Linked DNA regions of Homo sapiens: region 1 is linked to region 2. Evidence: promoter capture Hi-C in 16 types of primary human blood cells and fetal thymus (Javierre and others, 2016). All regions are on one chromosome and are shown on one strand. The core of a region is centred on a gene start or on the middle of the fragment in contact, and the rest is flanking DNA. Distances in the headings are between cores, read along the strand shown.

The links. Contacts are between HindIII fragments. The CHiCAGO score rates a contact against its expected background, and 5 or more counts as called.
Region 1: a contact is called between a fragment that was not itself captured here and the fragment with the promoter of COMMD9 in region 2, in 1 of 17 cell types (naive B cells). The highest score is 6.7, in naive B cells.

What each region holds. Positions count from the first base shown.
Region 1 is chr11:34,925,728-34,929,452 of GRCh38, forward strand. All of the region lies in intron 1 of PDHX (pyruvate dehydrogenase complex component X), which reads left to right. Among named protein-coding and RNA genes, the nearest start is that of PDHX, 11 kb to the left of the region's middle. The HindIII fragment of the contact is 1,952 bases long and covers 998-2,949 here.
Region 2 is chr11:36,287,197-36,290,832 of GRCh38, forward strand. It overlaps COMMD9 (COMM domain containing 9), which reads right to left and starts at 2,228. Exons shown (of 6, transcript NM_014186.4): 1 at 2,166-2,228. The coding sequence starts at 2,216. RefSeq lists enhancers at 1,590-2,292, 2,129-2,378. The HindIII fragment of the contact is 8,947 bases long and covers 1-2,545 here.

The sequences.
Region 1 (3,725 bases), core at 724-3,223, 1.4 Mb before region 2:
ATGATGCCATATACAGGTTTGAGCATCTCTAATCTGAAAATCTGACATCCAAAGCTTTTTGAGCACTGACATGATGCTCAGAGGTGATGCTCAAAGGAATGTTCATTGTAGCATTTGGGATTTTGGACTTTGAGATTAGGGATGCTCAACCAGTAAGAATAATGAATGCAAATATTCCAAAATCTGAAAAAATCTGAAATTAAGAACTCTTATAGTCCCAAACATTTCTGATAAGGCATACTCAACCTATATATTGCTTATGGGTTATCTTTTTTATGTTTGTTAGCATGCCAAGACCTGTAAATGCTGTTTTCACACAAACTGTTGTGCATTCATTTTCTGTTGTGGTCCATTGACATTTTCAGTCTATTTTTACTCCAGTACCACACCAAAATAACTATTTGAACAAAGAAGACTTATATGACAAACGATCCTTTAAAACAAAAAATACTATAACTGCCTTTATTCCAAGTGTTAATATTACTCTGTGCCTAGTGCTGATTTTTAAATTACTTTTACTTTATTCTGCCTTATTTCATCCAGCCTGCAGATGGCAGAATTGTTTCATTTGAACAGCAATTTTGAAGGCTCCGTTTTATTTAGTGTGTTCTGACATTGGAATGAGAAGTGATTAAATGAACAGTCTCTCTCCCTATTAGAGAAGAAGCAAATTAATGTTAGAGACAGGGAGCCACACTAAGAAAGTACTGGATAATTTACTTTTTCATTTGGTCTATCTTCATTTCATGATTTTTGCATGCTTGGATTATAAATGAACTAGAGCCTATAAATGAACTAGAGCATGATGTTTAAGCTGTACCATATGTAAACTGCTGAATTCCCTTAATTACTTTAGTCAGAGTAATGGAGCTTAAATCTGCTTCATATTAACCATAAAGCAGTTTGTTCTGCATTTGTATTTTAAGAGTTTGCTTGTATTAAATTTTTTTTTTAATCTAGAGACCTTTTAGCATTCATGAATCAATCATCAATTTAAAGCTTTGATATAATTGAGTTTGCTGAAGTATGAGCATTTTGTTCTTAGGATAAAAGAAATACTTTAGGGAAGAAGAAACTAGAATTAGATTAGTGTACCATATTTGAAATTGAAGTCAGAATTATGCTGTAGAAAAATTGGAAGAGCCCATTTGAGGAAATACAGGAATTGCTTAGAGGGATTACTGTAAAATTCAGTGATTGGTAAATTGCTCATGTAGCAGAAATGGCAGGGAAAACAGCAATAAGCTAAGCAAAAAATTTTAATGTATTGTGTCATTCTGTTGATGTAAAAAAAGAGTAAAATAGTTATGAGTCATGAGACTTTACTTTTAAAATCAGCAAGTTTAAATATAAAGTACTGGACCACATACATTACAATAGTCATTTAAAAATTTTTAAAAATGTTTTGTAACTGCTGTGGAAGGGTAGACTTCACAAGCCAATTAGATATAATTTGCTAGCTTTATAAGAAGGAGCAGAACACTGAAGTGACTACAAAACGTTAAATTTTAACTAAATTTTGAGAACTTTGTGAATACTAATTGAAAAACTTGTGTAATGAGTGCAGCAAACTACTTACCTGTAGTTGTGGGAAACTAATACTAGGAAACGTAATTGGTGCATATCTTAAGGCCTTCTTAATTTGACAAGAGAATGGTAGAATGTACAGCTTACTGGAATAAGGAGGGAGTCTGCATATAAGTTCAAATGCAAATTAATTAATATTAGGTAAAGGATAAAATTCCATTCCAAGGAGTCTAGAAAAGTCTACACTATCTTAGTAGAGTTGACAGCAGCCATAAAGGGCAGATATTAATTATGTGCAGGCCTGTCACTTCAAGTTTATCTTACGATTGTGTAATTACTTTCCCATCAGAAAAATACGTCTGGAAAAGATACCATATAGTGTTCTAATCAAAAGAGGGTATGCTAGAATGAAATATGTACTTTTATTAACACATTAATGCTTATGAAATGATTTTTCTAGCATGAAAGCCTGAGGATAGATTAGTTAGAATAACTACAAAATATATTGCACATTTAACTCTCCGTAATAAGCGAGTGTAATCTATCAAGAGATAGTATTGAATAATGGAGATGTCCAAAATATCTTTCTTTGGTTTTTGTCACCTTCATTTCAGAGTAAAGATAATGATCTACTACAGAATTTTTGTATTATCATAATTCAGATAAGCAATTTCAATTCATTTCATGAAGGGTGACTAAGGAACGATTATGTTCTTTTTATTTTTAAAATATGAAAATTTTTGAGGTTCTTGATGTGGTAACTTGAAAGATAATAATAAATGCAGAGGTTTCATAATATAGTCCTTAATGTCAAGAGTAATGGAAATGTGAAGGTCTCTTAGGTGAGAGATTATAGCAGGAGATAGAATCATAAAATAAATGTGAATTGTGTCGTGACAACTGGAACCAAAGCATACAAATATTGGAGAGAGACTTTAAGAGAATTAAGTTAGTATTTGTCGTAAATTGGAATCTGGCTATAGAAGCATTGAGGTCCATTTAGTTGCTTCTTTGAAATGGAACTCTTTGATATATAAATGTAATATGTATATATTTATGAAATATTCTGTTCATAATGCCTGGCTTGAACTTTTTGATAGAAAGAACACATTGGGACTTTTTTTTTTTTAAGCCTTTGTTTTCGAAAAGAGGCTGGCCTCTTACCGTGGTGCTATTTAAAAGATAAGAGTTTTTTTTTGCCCACCCCCCTCCTTTTTTTTTTTTTTCCCCAGAACAAGTGAGTTTGTTATTCTGAGCTTAACAAAATAAATGCTGAGGCTCAGGCTGACAGTACATTCTTTAAGCAACTGTTTTTGATTTTTTCATCAAGCCATGTAAAAAAGAAAAAGGCAGTAGACACACCACATAGTGTAGAGGATTAGAAAGCTCATTCTGTTATCTCCAAATGCATTCAGTGTGTTAAGCTTTATGCACGTTTTAAGAATTCTTGCAATTAAGTGTAGGATTGTTATGGTTTGGATTTGGAGATGCATCACTAATGTTATAAGTTTTCCTGTGTGTAAGAGAGTATGTGTGTATGTGTGTTTTCCAAGTGCACTTCCCTAATTTTAGTTCACTCAAGAATTTAGTTCTCCAGCATTTTATAGACAAAACATTATGGTTGTATTTAGTAGTTTGCATTATTTTTTACCTATTTAATATTTTAATCACAAGGACTTATTTTACTAAGTAAAAAATGCAAAGATTTTGAAAGCTATCTTCTAGTTATAATTTAGCATTTCAACTAGAGGTAGCTTGGGAATTCAGTGAAACTGTTTCAGCTACAGTTATTGAGAGTCATGGTGGACTGGAGTTGGATGGCTTTGTTCTTCAGTGTCTTCCAAAATAACGGTGTTTCGTAATTAGGAGTTAGGAAACTCATTGTGGCTATTTTTCCTCCTGTTTTTCATATATAATGCACTTAGAGATAACCTGTTCTCTTATGCATTTGAAATATTCATTGTCAGTAGTAAAAGTGGTATTTTTGTTTTGTTTTTCTCAGGCAGAGTCTTGGTCTGTTGCCCATGCTGGAGTGCAGTGATCTTGGCTCACTGCAACCATCTCCTCCCAGATTCGAGTGATTCTCATGCCTCAGCCCCCCAAATAGCTGGGATTACAGGCGTGTGCCATCACGCCTGGCTAATTTTTAAATTTTAATAGAGTGGGGTTTCGCCATGTTGGCCAGGCTGGTCTCAAAC
Region 2 (3,636 bases), core at 978-3,477:
TATCGCGTAGTATGTATACTACATACTATGTATATCGCGTAGTATGTATACTACATACTATGTATATCGCGTAGTATGTATACTACATACTATGTATATCGCGTAGTATGTATACTACATACTATGTATATCGCGTAGTATGTATACTACATACTATGTATATCGCGTAGTATGTATACTACATACTATGTATATCGCGTAGTATGTATACTACATACTATGTATATCGTGTAGTATGTATACTCTATATTATATACATACTATACATAATAGTATATATACTATATTATGTATAGTTCCGCAGAATCCTGCAGAACTGAGGGAAACTGAGTAAAGGATAAATGGGATCTCTCTATATTATTTCTTACAACTACATATGGATTTATAATTATCTCATAATAAAAAGTCTAAGTATTTTTTTAAAAAAAGAAAAGAAAGTACACAGGACAGTAGCAATGAAAATCAATGAACTACTGCTACATAATGGTGAGCAAAAGAAGCCAGGCATAAAAAAAAAGTATATGCTGTATTATTCCATTTATGTTAAGTTCAAACATGGGCAATATTAAATGAATTGTATCAGAAGCAAACATAGAGGTTACCATTGGGGAAGAAAGTGAGGAAGCAAAGAAAGGGCGAAAGGGGGACTTCTGGGGTACTGGTAACATTTCATTTTTTGACTTTGGTGGTGGTTACATTGGTGTGTAATAAATCATTTAACTGTAAATGTATGGTTTATGCACTTTTCTGTATGTATACTACACACTAATCTTTTAAAGTTTTTAAAAGAAAAGAGTGCATAAGACCAACAGGTATAGGGGCGGGGGTAGGTACAGAGCAGCCAAAATGAAGGTGAAAAGGCACTGGGTTGGGAGCTGAGAGCCCTAGATTGCCAGTCCCAGCTCTGTTACTTCATTTATTAATTCATTTAACAGCTATTTACTGAGCACGTGCTGTGTGCCAGGTATTATTGTTCTACTTATTGGGCATTAACACTTGTGAACAAAAGAGTAGATCCCCTTAGGAGTGGAGAATGCTAATGAACACTGAGAAGGCAATTAAAAAATAAATAAGTAAAACAAAACAGAGACTATTACATGGACCGATGATGATGATGTGCCATAAATTGAGGAGAGTAACTCAACCCTCTTCACCTGGTGTTTAAAAAAAAAAAAAAAGAGAGAGGAAGAAAGGAAAGGTCCCTGATGGATCTTACATTCTTATGAGACAGACGGACAACGGGCAAATAGCTAGCGACAAGTTCTACGAAGGAAAATAAAGCTGCCCTTTCTCCTACAGGGCAAATCATAAGTTAAATAATTCCGGCCAGGCGCGGTGGCTCACGCCTGTAATCCCAACACTTTGGAAGGCGGAGGCGAGTGGATCACGCGGTCAGGAGTTCAAGACCAGCCTGGCCAAGATGTTGAAACCCCGTCTCTACTAAAAATACATAAATTTGCCAGGCTTGGTGGCGGGCGCCTGTAATCCCAGCTACTCGGAAGGCTGAGGCATAGAATTGCTTGAACTCGGGGGGCGGAGGTTGCAGTGAGCCGAGATTGCGCCACTGCTCTCCAGCCTGGACAACAGAGCTAGACTCCGTCTCAAATAATAATAATACTTCATTTGAGCTTTACAAAGCCCTATGAAGTAGGTCCCTTTCAACCTCACAACTTTTCAAATGATTATCAGGAGTATGTCCTGCCCCTTTCGCAGGTCAAAGAGAGTAGGGAAAATCTGGACCTCAAGGGAACATTGAACGCACAGGTCATTCGGAGGGCTGGGCAGACGCAGTAGGAGATAATTTCTTAATTGTGCAATGCAGGAGGGGCTACGGGATGAAATGGGGAACTGACAACGTGGGTCTAGCAATTACCACTTCAATGCACCAATACCGAAAACCAATCCCAAAGACTAATAGCAGGAGGTTGTACTGCGCCTTCATGCCCATTATTTTATTTTTTTTTATCTTACGTTCCTGTCAAAACGATATTTTGTTCTTACTTTTTAAAAGCTCAGAAAGACGCAACGATTTGCCTGGGATCACACAGAGAACAAGCAGCAGAGTTGTGGCTCCAAACCAGGGTCAATTTGTTCCCAATTCCTGCTCCGTCTAAAGTCTCGGAGACAAAGGGCCACCTCACGCTGTCCCCACCCCTTCGACTTACCTTGAGCAGGCTCTGGAGTGCTGCAAAATGCTCCGCTGTCAGGGCAGCCATCTTGCCGAAGTCACATGACCGTGGCACCCAGGGAAGCGAGGTCACGTGGCTGTCGCTGTTGTCGCGGGGCCTGCCGGGGGCTGTAGTCCTTCAGAGTGGGGGAAGGCGTTTCGGTTGTGGTGCTGCGGCAGTGAGCGCGGATCAAGACGGACGCGGCGGCTGGATGACTAAACCCCGAGACTCTAGAACCAAAGGACTAGGGGGACCAGGGCGGAGGATGGTTTACTCGGGGAGGAAATTGGCTTGACTTGTCTACTTACCAAGTCAGGGAAACAGGTTTTCCCTTGACCCATGTGGGTGGGCTGGCGCACTTGGGGAATGCACCTGCAAGCTTGGCAGGCGCCTTGGAAACGTAGTTGTTCAGGAGTGATCGGCGTACCAGTGTTTGGAATGAAAATGAGGCTGTGCATATCGGGCTTCTTGGAATTGACACACACACATGCACACATCCTGTCTTGAATGTAAAATTACTTCTGCGTATATAGTTTTTCAGCCTATGTAGTAGGTTGGAGCTGGTATTATTAGTATTATCCAGATTGGGAAATAATCATTTAGGGTTTTTAGTAACTTTCCCATAGTCATAGAGAAGATCTGATTACAAGAGCAGGTGAGGAAGTGTTTGGGAGAGGGGACAAGAGAGGAATGGAATGAAAGCTACTACCTAGCTAGGTTCTTGTTATACGGGGGTGAGATGGGGGAGGAGGTTAATGGAAATGATTTAGTTCATTTATTCAAAAAGGTAATTATAATGAATATAATTGTAAAGAGTGATTTTGCACTGGCAGTACTGGACTCTGATTTGCCCTGTTCTCAGAGACCGTACATCAAAACAGACATTTCCTTTATCTACCTTTAGTATTTGGGTGGCTCTTTTCTTTTCCTACCCTCCACTTTTTTTTAAGCAAATTCCAGCTCAAAAAATGGGTTCTGATATATTCGAGCTTAAGAAAGAATGCCCATTTGTGAAATTCCAGAAATTGGTAAGCTGCTAAGGACATTTGTTCCTTTGTCTCCTCTCCTCCCCCTTCCCCTTCCCCGACTCCATTTTCTGTGGGGATGTTGTCAAGGCCCAGGAAACCAAAAATCAAATTGTCTAAGGAGGAACCCATTCCTGGATTAGAAGATTTTAGAACCATTTTGTCACAGGGTCCTGATTCTAGCTCTCTTTCTTGGCCTCTCTTTTCCATGAACCCTCATGGCCTGATTCCTGGTTTCTGTTATAACTCAATGTAGGTTCTAGGTTTAACTCCTGCCTGTATCTATAGGGCTGGGCCCATTGTCTTGGGTTAATTGAATATTTGTTAAATAAACAACCACCCAAAAAAGTGATTAGACTAAGATGAAATTTTGTGACTTATTTGAGGATATTGCCTTGGTATTTGCAGGATTGTGCCTTCTTGTCTTACTTTAGAGTAATGAG